Regions from separate parts of the Homo sapiens genome. Here region 1 is linked to region 2. Evidence: promoter capture Hi-C in 16 types of primary human blood cells and fetal thymus (Javierre and others, 2016). All regions are on one chromosome and are shown on one strand. Each heading gives the region's core, a stretch centred on a gene start or on the middle of the fragment in contact. The rest is flanking DNA. Distances are from core to core; before and after follow the strand shown.

Evidence for each region. Contacts are between HindIII fragments. The CHiCAGO score rates a contact against its expected background, and 5 or more counts as called.
Region 1: a contact is called between the fragment with the promoter of ZNF30 here and the fragment with the promoter of FXYD1 in region 2, in 5 of 17 cell types (neutrophils, erythroblasts, non-activated CD4 T cells and 2 more). The highest score is 10.8, in neutrophils.

What each region holds. Positions count from the first base shown.
Region 1 is chr19:34,923,615-34,929,817 of GRCh38, reverse strand. It overlaps ZNF30 (zinc finger protein 30), which reads right to left and starts at 2,915. Exons shown (of 5, transcript NM_194325.3): 1 at 2,602-2,915. It overlaps ZNF30-AS1 (ZNF30 antisense RNA 1), which reads left to right and starts at 2,992. Exons shown (of 3, transcript NR_110749.1): 1 at 2,992-3,089; 2 at 5,984-6,203. The HindIII fragment of the contact is 20,354 bases long and covers 153-6,203 here.
Region 2 is chr19:35,135,858-35,141,269 of GRCh38, reverse strand. FXYD1 (FXYD domain containing ion transport regulator 1) reads right to left here and starts at 2,446. Exons shown (of 8, transcript NM_021902.4): 1 at 2,376-2,446; 2 at 1,130-1,194; 3 at 641-673; 4 at 64-138. The coding sequence starts at 1,190. RefSeq lists an enhancer at 1-40 and a silencer at 5-134. The HindIII fragment of the contact is 25,239 bases long and covers 1-3,715 here.

The sequences.
Region 1 (6,203 bases), core at 1,666-4,165, 210 kb after region 2:
CTGTCCCTTCATTTCAGCTTCCAAACTGTGCTACAAACACCCTCAAACAAAATTTGGAGAACAGTGGAATTCAAGCCCCAGTTAACTAAGCTGTACAGAGTTGATCGCAGAGGTGTGGCACTTCTTAAGGAAGGCAGAATCAGACACAAGCTTTCCCACCAGGCCCCCATTTTGGGAATGTTGATCTAGGTCTCAAATTGGGTTGCACAGTCTTCTCTTGAACAGATTCTCCTCACTCCATTCCCACGTTCTAAGCCTAAGAAAGAGTCCATATCACCCAATCCAGAGCTTCTTTAATGGTGACAGTATAAATCTGAGGTTGGTCAAGACACGGGAGGTAGAGAACATAGGAGAAAATGATCAGGCAGTTACTAATATGGCTCAGTTTTCTCATCACTAAAATAGTAATAGGAGTATCAGCTCCAACATGTGGTTGTCCTGAAGAATAAGAAAACCCACCCCAAAAGTTAATAGAATACTTGCTTAACATGAGTTGGCTCTTTTGTTTTGTTTTGTTTTGTTTTATTTTTTGAGACGGAGTCTCGCCCTGTCACCCAGGCTGGAGTGAGTGCAGTGGCGCCATCTTGGCTCACGGCAACCTACGCCACCCAGATTCAAGTGATTCTCCTGCCTCTGCCTCCCTCCCGAGTAGCTAGGACTACAGGCGCATAGTCACGCCCAGCTAAGTTTTGTATTTTTAGTAGAGACGGAATTTCACCATGTTGGCCAGGATGGTCTCCATCTCCTGACTTCGTGATCCGCCCGCCTCAGCCTCCCAAAGTGCTGGGATTACAGGCGTGAGCCACCGCGCGCAGCCGAGTTAGCTCTTACTATGGTAGCTCCCTCTTATCCACAGGGGGGAGATACACTCTAAGATCCTCAGTAGATGTCTGACGGAACCCCATATATACTATGTTTTTTCTTATACATACACACCTATGATTAAGTTTAATTTATAAATTAGGCACCATAAGAGATTTTTATTTTTCTGTTTGTTTGTTTGTTTGAGACAGGGTCTCACTCTGTTGCCCAGGCTGGAGTGCAGTGGTGTGATCTTGGCTCACTGCAACCTCCACCTCCTGGGAGCCTCCCAAGTAGCTGGGATTACAGGTGCCCACCACCACGCCTGGCTAATTTTTGTATTTTTACTAGAGACAGGGTTTCACCATGTTGGCCAGGCTGGTCTCGAACTCCTGACCTCAATTGATCCACCCATCTCAGTATCCCAAAGTGCTGGGATTACAGGCGTGAGCCACCGCACCCGGCCACCATAATTGAGTAATAGCAATAACTAATAATAAAATAGAACAACTATAATAGCATACTGTAATAAAAGTTATGTGAACATGGCCCCTCTCTCTCAAAATATCTTATTGTACCAAAATCACCTATTTTCAGATCATGGTTGACTGAGGGTAACAAAGTGAAGAAAGTGAAACTGCCGATTAAGGGGGCACTACTGCATTGGAGTTATTACGTAAACATTATACATCCTTTATTTCATTTTAATTAAACACTTGTTTCCACTTAATTTAATTTATGTATCTATCTATCTATCTATCTATATATATATATATATATATATATATATATATATTTTTTTTTTTTTAGAGAAGGGATCTCGCTCTGTCGCCCAGGCTGGATTGCGGTGGTGCCATCTCCACTCACTGCAACCTCCGCCGCCTCCCAGCTTCAAGCACTTCTCCCACCTCCGCCTCTCAAGTAGCTGTGACTACAAGCGCACGCCACCATGCCTGGCTAATTTTTATATTTTTAGTAGAGACGGGGTTTCACCATGTTGCCATGTTGGTGGTCTCGAACTCCTGAGCTCAGGCAATCCACCCGCCTCAGCTTCCCAAAGTGCTGGGATTACAGGCATGAGCCATGGCACCCGACCTGTTTCCACTTTTTACTTAAAACGTAAGTTTCTCTGGCATGCTTTCTTTTAATTCTAACTAAAAAATTAAGAGCAACTCTTCTTTAAAAACAAACAAATAAAAAACCAACAGAAAAGATTCTCTGACATTTCAATTTCCTCTGTCCCCTAGCAGCTAGAGAGAGAGAGCTACTGCTGTGGGATAATGCAAAATTGAAGAACCTTAAGAAAAAGCTGGGTCCTATTTCTGTGCAATATGGAGATTGATGGAAATGTTTACAGCTGTCATCTTGCTCTCCTTTCTTACATAATTTTGTCATTAGTTAAGTAATCTGCACAACAGATCCTTTGAAGTCCTTTTCCCTGCACTGATAATTTTCAGATGACATTGCTCTCATCTTTAAAAGGTGTAAATACTTTATACAGTTTTTTCCAAACAAGAAGAGGCTTCCTGGCAATCCCATTTCTTCCCGCTGCATGCAAAAGGTATCATAACTATCGTTTCCTTTTTAAACTGAGAGTTGAAGAGTCTTTTGCTCCTTTACATAAATCAATTACAGTGATTTTATCCAAAATAGTAACAAATATTAATAGCTCAGGTTCGCATGGAGGCCATGCACCCAGTCTTCGCGGATGCACACCGGCCCCGGCCGACGCACCCTCCCTGCCCTGCCGCTCCCGCACTCGCCGGCCCGGGATCCTCGCCCGGTCCACCCAACGCTCACGCATGTCTCAGTCCGGGTTCCGCGCCGACACAGGTCTGCAGAGCTCCCGGTGCTGTGTTCGTTTGCAGAAATTCAAGTTGCCCGGCGGGGCTGCTCCAACCTCGGAGCTGGGCGCTGACTTCTCCCTCGATGAACTCCAAAGCTCGCTGCCGGGTCAACGACCACAATGAACTGGCGAGGAGGCAGAGATTGAGGTCGTTCCAGTGGCCGCTGAGAAATGTAGTTTCAGGCTACATTGGCCGGATAGCTGCAGCCTCTGGGAAATGCAGTCCTGAGCCGTCACACCGCCGAGCATGCCCGGCGCAGTCCACAAGGCCGCCCACCGGCGCCCGGAGACTTCTGGGCGCTCCCGTCCGGCTGAGAATGCGCAGGCGCAGGCGCTCGAGTTGCTGGGAGCCATAGACCTCGAAGCTGGGGCGTCTGACACCTGAGGCCCGAAGTAGGTGGCCAGCTTCTTAGAGGGCCAACCCAGGGCATTAACACACCAGGTCAGAAAAAGCAAAAACAAAAACAAACAAAAAATGATAATCTATACCAAAATATGTTATTACTTTAACACAAAAATATGAAAACTAGGTGTTTGAAATTATCTTTCCGTACTGTTTGCTTTTCGCTACAGAAATGCTATTATTTAACAGAATATTAATAGGATTAATAGTGGCAATTAGACTAATCACGTGTGAGAAAAATATATTTCTGTCCTCTGATACAGGAATTTTAAGTTTCTATTAAATATTTAAATTTTGTGGGTTCTATCTAAGATGCTAAATGTAAGACCTTTTAAAAGGAGAATGTAAATAAGGCTAATCAAACAGATATTAACTATATGTAATAGGCATTTATCTTTCTGTCCCATCATACGTTTAGGAGATATTTACTCTTTCTGGTTCCTTTTCCAGTAACACCTCTCTGTATTAGCTGCCTGTAGCCTTTATGGCATTCTTCTTTTGGTTTATGTAATGCTAAAACTGAATACAGGCAAACGTGAAATTCACCTTGACTGTCAGCTCCGCTTTTTGTTTGTTTTGTTTTTGTTTTGTTTTGAGACAGGGTCTCCCTCTGTCGCTCAGACTGGAATGCAGTGGCGCTATCTCGGCTTACTGTAACCTCTGCCTCCCAGGTTCAAGTGATTCTCCCACCTCGGCCTCCAGAGTAGCTGAGACTACAGGGGCGCGCCACTACACCTGGCTAATTTTTGTATATTTTTTGTAGAAATGGGGTTTTGCCATCTTGCCCAGGCTAGTCTCGAACTCCTGGGCTCAAGCGATCCACCCGCCTCAGCCTCCCAAAGTGCTGGGATGACAGGGTGAGCCACCGCGGCCAGCCGAGCTCTGTTCTTATTAAGCCCACATTACAGTGATTCCTGGAGTCAGTCCAGGGTGATGACATTGATAAGGAGGTGGGGAAGGGGAGTGCTGGGGAGGGAAGGGCGGGGTCCCTTTAAATGATATGGAAGGGGGAAAGGGAGGTGCTGGGTACAGGAGGGTGTGGTCCCTGGCTAGGGCTCCACCCCTGGCCCTGTGCCAACTGACCTAGGTGAGGGCAGGCATTTTTGTTTTCCTGCCCAAATGTTGCGTTTCCCAAGACCACCCTGGCCTGCCACGCCCCCATCCTGTTCCCGCCCCCATCCTGTCCCTATAAATACTCTGAGACCCTAGCAAGCAGACACACAAGCCGCTGGACATCCAGAGGAACATGTTGGCGGAAGAAGACATGACAGACGCTGGCACGCGGGCAGGCCACCCACCAGAAGGACGCGGAGTTTGGCTGGGGCAGTCCAAGGAGAGCCGGTGCTGCGGAGCAGCCCGATTCCAGGGGAAAACCATTTCCCTTCTGGCTCCCCCAACTGTTGAGAGCTACTTCCACTCAAAACCCTGCAGTCATCCTCCAAGCCCATGTGTGATCTGATTCTTCTGGTACACCAAGACAGGAACCCCGGGATATGAAAGCCCTCTGTCCTTGCGATAACGCAGGGATCTAATTGAATTGACTAACATAAGCCGCCTGCGGACAGCTAAAGAGCATCCTGTAACACGCCCACTGGGGCTTCAGCTATAAACATTCACCCCTAGACACTGCCATGGGGTCAGAGCCCCACAGCCCGCCCGTCTGTATACTCCCCTGGAGGTTTGAGCAGCGGGACACTGAAGAAGCGAGCCACACCCCCATCGCACGCCCTGCCAGGGGGACAAGGGAACTTTTCTCTTATCAACATCAACCTAAGTAGCCTCGCATCAAAAGCATTTGACTGTCAATAGTTAGGATTTTCCCTACCAGCAGTAGCAAGTTTTTAGCCTTATTGGAATTAGTTTCCAGCTCTGCAAAAATGTTCATCTGCTTTGTAACTCCAGGCTTTTTTGGTAGAGCAGCTGTTTGTTGACCAGTCGCTTTGCCTCTGTAAGTTCACCATATAGGCTATTCATGTCTAAAGTGTTCATTTTCAAACCCTCTGAAACTCATTGGGTATCTATTACAATGTCTGAAGACAAATATTTCATTAACAAATAAGAAGGTGATAGACCTGGAGTGAGAATCCACCCAATTCATGTCAATCGGAGACAAATTTGCAATATCCTGTGATTCCTGAACTGGCTGTGGTCACTGATCACTTCTGTCCTGGAGGAACTAGAGACATTCAAGACAAATAAGGACTCATCTAGTCCCCTGATTAAAGGACTTTTCATAGAGGCTGCATTAAGGGCCAAATTATGTACAATGTGCTCTCTGAGATGGGGATGTGTAAATAGCCGTCAAAATGTCATCTGGGCAGAAATTTGTTTGGGAGGATAAATTTATGTTCAGGGGTGAGGGGTGAATACAATAGAAATTTGTATTTTGCAGAGGGAAATGTGGGTTCCATGGTGGGTAGAAATAAAATAGATTAGTAGAATACTTAGAATGTCAAAGAAATTTTTAAATCATAGGGTTTTTTTTTTGAGAAAATTTTTGAAATGATTTTGAAATGATTTATTCAAAAAGTGCCCCTCAAAAGTGATCACTCCATAGATGACAGCTAAGGATCGCAATCTTACTGCTATGCCCTTGTGTTTTGAGTGAAGACTTGTGTGACTATAGTGAGGGTCTAGGTGTTTAATCGTCAGAGGTAAATTGGAGATTTCAGATGAGGCTGTCTCATGGAAGAGGGAGGAAGGATACTCACAAACCCTACAGCTGGAATCTGAGCATCCAGTGGAAAATGACAGTCCCTGATCCCTCAGGAAACTTTCTCTGGCCACTGTCAGTGATGTTCTAATCTAGGAGAGCAGAACTTTCCCCCTTATAATGTTTCTCACTGCATTTCCTGAAATATATTTCGTCTAAGTTCCATACGTTTATCTGAAAAGAATAACCACTTACCAAATTGTGTTTCCAACTAGGATAGTGGCCGCAGTTGTATTATCTTGTGCATTTGTCAAGAGAGGTCATCCGAACGCTGAGATAAAGGCTTGGGATTCCATTGTCTCATCTCTTTCTGGGAGTGATTTTCCTCTCATCTGGAAGTGCAGAGACAGAGTCTTCATAGGGAACTGAGATTACCTCCAAAAAACATTTGTGAAGTGAGCAATTCCTAGAAGGCTGTTAATGTTGATTAATGAAATTAT
Region 2 (5,412 bases), core at 1,197-3,696:
GGGGCCAGAGAGAGGTGGGGCCAGGGAGAGGCGGGGTAGAGGGCGGGAGCTAGGGGCACTCACTCAGCACGATGAGGATGCCCAGGATGAAGAGGATCCCGGCGATGACGAGGCCTCCGATCTGCAGGGACTGGTAGTCTGTGAGCAGCAGAGCAGGGAAGGTGAGGGCAGGGAAGACAGGAGGGAGAATAGGAGAGGGGTAAATTGGGAAGGAGGGAACAGGGAGAAAGGACCAGCAGGCAGAAGGGGGGAAGTAAGATAATTAAGGGGGAGCAGATATGGGAGGAGGAAAGTGGGGTACCAGGGAGAGGAAAGGGGTGTATAGGAAAGGGAGGGAGGGGACAGGGAGGAGGAGGACAGGGGGGAGAGAAGACGGGAAGAAGCAGAGGATGGGCCACGAGATGCTGAGACAGACGCAGGCAAGAGAAAGAGAACCAGAGAGGTATCACATAGACAGTGACACAGATAGACACAGACAGGAAAAGATGCAGACAGGTGGAATCAGAGAGGAAGGACAAAATAGAGGGAAGGAGAATGACAGAGATATCAATACTGGGACTCTGGGGGAGGGCGAGGGGGAATCAAAGGACCAGCAAAGCCAGGCTCTCCCCCAGGACTCAAAATTAGACCCCCCGCTCACCGTAAGTGAACGGGTCGTGTTCCTTTGGACTTTCTGGAAAGAGAGAGAAATCAGGGGTTGAATGCTTCCTGGGGTCCTGGCAGGGAGGGGCATGAGGAGACCACTGGAGGCTCTGCCTTGCTGGGCTTAGAGTCTGAGGGTGTCTGGGCAGGCTGCCCACACTCTCTGGGTCCCAGCTGCCCCCTCTGCACTGTCCCAGATGGGGCAGGTGGCACCTAACTGCCCCAGCTCCCTGACTCACGGCAGGCTGTCTGTGACCCAGTTATCCCATCGGGGATTCAGCCCCATCCCACCCCATCTTTGCCTGATCTGGGGCTTCCTCTCCCCTCCCCCAAATACCAGCCTGTGACTGGACCCCACGTGGAGACCCCCAAACTTCTTGGTACCCCAGCCGACTTAGTCTAGGTTGGGGTCTCCAACTTGGTTCTTCGGTCCCCACCGCCACCCCTGGGGCTGAGGTGGGTAGCGGGCAGCCTCCCCTGCACTCACCTGCCTTGGCCATGGTGAGGAGACCCACACAGAAAACCAAGATGTGGCCAAGAGACGCCATTGTCCTGGGGGGGACACCACGGATTAGGCAGTGTGTGCCCTTGCTCTCCCACATAGGGCTTGAACCCAAGGGATTAAGTCAGAGACAGTCTGGGGACTGAATCACAGAAGTGTTTGTCCTCTATCTTGGTGGCTCCAAGCTAGAGAAACGGGTATCCCCAGCTTCGTGGGGACACAGTGTCACCAAAACAACCTCCACGATGGGATCACACAACAACACAACGTAGCAGGGACGGGGGTGAGACACACAGTCCCCGGGGGGCCTCCCTTGGGCCTCCACCTCCCGCAGCAGGCCCCCGATTCCCAGACCTACCCTGGCAGGGCAGAGGAGGCGCTGCCTCACACAAACACAGAGCAGGAGACAGCAGGGCACGCCCAAGTCCCACCTGCCTACATGCCCGGCCTCACTGTGCCCCGCGAAATCCCAGCTCCCTGCCCTCTCCGCCCGCCCGCTCGCGGCCTGACCCCGGGTATAAATATCTCCCACTTCACCCTGGAGGAATTCTGCTCGCTCAGGCCACCATGGCAACAGCCTGCCTTCCCCCACTCAGGGGGTCACGCACAGCCCTGCCGGGGTGAGGCCCAGCTGCCACATCGCCACAGGCTGCCCCTGTGGGAAAGGTCACCCCGTCTCCTCCCTGGGCAGCAACGAGAAAAGGAAAAGACAGCCCCTCTGCCCGCCTCTGGGTGACATCTTTCACAATCGGATGTCAGGCAAGTGACATGAGGCCCAGCCCAGTGGGCCTTAGAGATAGAAAACACATGCTGGGGCAGGGATACACACACACACACACACACACACACACACACACACACACAGTGGGGCCGGAATGGACATGAACAACAACCTCTCCCCAAACTGCTGGTTGGAGCAGGACGTGGGGTGTAAACACCGTCAGGCATCCAATACTCCTCCTCTGGGCCTCCGGTGCCCCCACGCAGTGACGCAACCAGCCCTACACACGTGTGTGTCCCAACTCCACACCCTGCCAGGGTGCACACGCACCAGCAGGGCAGGGAGGAGTCACCCACATCCCACCCTGCAGAACCCACTGCCTCAACCACACTCCCTCCCTCTTGGGTTGGCCTGCCTGGGAAGCCTCGGGCTGGCCACTCCTGCTCCCAAAATAGGCGGCCCAGCCAGACCAGGGGTGAGGCCTGGAGGGAAGGAGTGGGGGACGCTCACCCCAATCGGGCTGTCCCCTGCTGAAAGAAGGCCCCCAAACGTCCTGCTGTGCCCCGGGGGCTGAGCACTTTGGACCCCCTGGCCCAGAGCTGGACGCGCCGCCCCCAGCAGCCTCCCCTCCCAGCCCCACCCCACCCATGCCCTCCCCAACCAGCAGCTGAAACTGGAGCTGGGGCTGGAGGGGGGCCAGGGGGCGGCCCCCAGCCCAGACTGCCCTGGCCCGCTTGGTTAACTCTCTCAGTTCAGAGAGAGCAGCAGCAGGCAGCCAGCAGGCAGGCTGGAGAGGCTAGGAGGATTGTGGAGGACAGGGTTGTGAACACACACACACACAAACACACACGCCTCCAAGAGCTTTTGGGCTGAGGCGGCTGCCCCCTGGGAACTGGGTCCAGCCAGGGCCGAAGGTCACCCAGCCTGACTGCCCAGGAGCCCACTGACCCCCGATCCCAGTGCTCCGTGAGGTCCTTAACAGGGCTGTTTTAGAGGACGGGAGGGAGGTGTGTGTGTGTGTGTGTGTGTGCGCGCGCATGTGCGCTATCTGCTGTGGTGAGATCCCCAGAAATGCACCACACACACACACCCACACACAATCCCAAAGACCCAGATATACAGGTACAAAACCAGACAAAACCATGTATGTATGTACATCCATAGAAGCAGACACACACAGAATGACACACTGATAGAGAAACCCAAAGACCCGGACACACAGCCAACACCTTTTATGCCAGTCACAAAATACCAGAACAAGCACATTTATGTCTACACAGACCCACGCACGCTCATGTAGATGGATGGCCACACAGAGATACAGTCAAAGACATAGCCACATCACCATCTACACTCACAAACTGGCCACAAAAATGCATGTTTATGTGAAGACCCACCCACAAATGGCCATACAGAAACACACAAGTATGTGCACACCGCACATAAATGCATTCTAAGATGCATGGCCAAACATGGCCAGGTACGGTGGCTCACACCTGTACTCCCAGCACTTTGGGAGGCCAAGGCGGGAGGATCACTTGAGGCCAGGAGTTCAACACCAGCCTGGCCAACCCGACGAGAGCTCGTCTCTACTAAAAAAATATACAAAAATTAGCTGGGTGTGGTGGCGTGCGCCTGTAATCACGGCTACTCCGGAGGCTGAGGCAGGAGAGTCACTTGAGCCCGGGAGGCAGAGCTTGCAGTGAGCTGAGATCATGCCACTGCACTCTAGCCTGGGCAACAGAGCGAGACTCTGTCTCAAAAACAAAAACAAAACAAAAAAACCCCAAAGGTACAGACATGCAGCCAGCACTCCTACATGGTCCCAAAGATAGGAAGGCCAACAAGCTTGTGTACACACAGACAGATTTCCATGGGCACAGATACACAAGCAGAAACACCATCAAGGACAACCCGCCGCTCTCACACATACCCACAAAAGCAGAAACACACACACTGGTTCACACCCTATGCTTGAGCAAACAGGCACATGGTTGGCCACGGTGACAGATGCGCAGGCTGACACACTTGCATGTTCACACATTCCAAAACCACAGATATGTATTTAACCCCACACTTTCCTTCCCCTGAGCTCTTGTCGGGGACAACACACCTGGCGTCCCCATGGGCAGGCCAGGTTTACAGGTCCTGGTGACAGGGAAACCTGGAATGGCCCAGGCACTGCACTCCTGGTTGTGTGAACTTGAGCAGCTCTGTGCCTCATTTTCACATGCTCCAAAATGGAAAAATCACTAAGATCACGTGTATAATCCTGGACAGGGCTCAGAGGTCTCTGAACTTGACATTGTCTTATGATTAACTTCATTTTTTGTTTGTTTGTTTGAGACCGGGTCTTGCTCTGTCACCCAGGCTGAAGTGCAATGGCACAATCATAGCTCACTGTAGCCTCAACCTCATGGGCTCAAGTGATTCTCCCACCTCAGCTTCCTGAGTAGCTGGGACTATGGGCGTGCGACACCATGCCTGGCTAATTTTTTAATTTTTTGTACAGTCGGGGTTTCTCTATGTTGCCCAGGCTTGTCTTGAACTCCTGGCCCCAAGCGATCCTCCCACTTCAGCCTGCCAAAATGTGGGATTACAGAAATGAGCCACCGTGCCTGGCCTATTATTATTGTCCTTGTCATCCTCCTCCTTGTGAACTGGACTGCTGGGCTGGGCACCCTATGAGAGTGGGTTCAGATCCCTCTGTGCCCCTGGCACTCAGCTCTCCAACTTCACTTTCAGGGACCCTGTTTATCATACCCAATAGTCAGTGAAGGAAACTGAGAGCTGACGGGCATGGCTCAAACCACAAGCTGCTGGGGTCTGCTCCTCTAGGAGCTGGATCCGGAGCCCACCCCCAAGCTTGCCGACCACTGTGGGATGCCCACCTTGTGCTGAACCCCAAAAGGATGAGTTGCCTCCATCACCTGAGTCCTCTCCACAACTGGGAAGCGGGTGCCACGATTGTCCCCGTTTGACAGATGGGAAAACTGAGGCCACACAGGACTGGGCCTGGAACCCAGATCTGCATGACCTCCAAGCTGTTAAGCCCCCTTATCCTCCAACGAGGCTTCTGGGCGTGGGCGTCAGTGTCAAGAGAGGCTGCATGCATTCCTCAATCACAGGATGAGTCTCGTCCCCAGGCGATGAGGTGGTACAGCCTAGGGGTTAGGTTTAGAGCTGACTAGAGCCAGGAAACTAATCACATAACTTCCCTGTGCCTCAGTTTCCCCATCTGTAAAGCAGGGATAGCAGTACTGCCCATCTCACAGGGTGGCTGTGAAGGCTGAGTGAGTATAAACATTACTACTATTTCATCTTAGCTAACAAGTGTCATTTACTTATGTTTCTTATTTAGTGGACAGAATCTATCCAAATGACTAAAATTTAGTCCAGATTAAAACAACCAATTATCCATCTATCCATGAACTCTGATCTCCAAAGAAAGAATGCAAAATAACCTGGAGCCGGATGCCTGGGTTTGAATCCCGGCTGTGCCCTCAGCTGGGTAACCTAGAGTTCAGGTTCCCTGACCTCTGTCTCC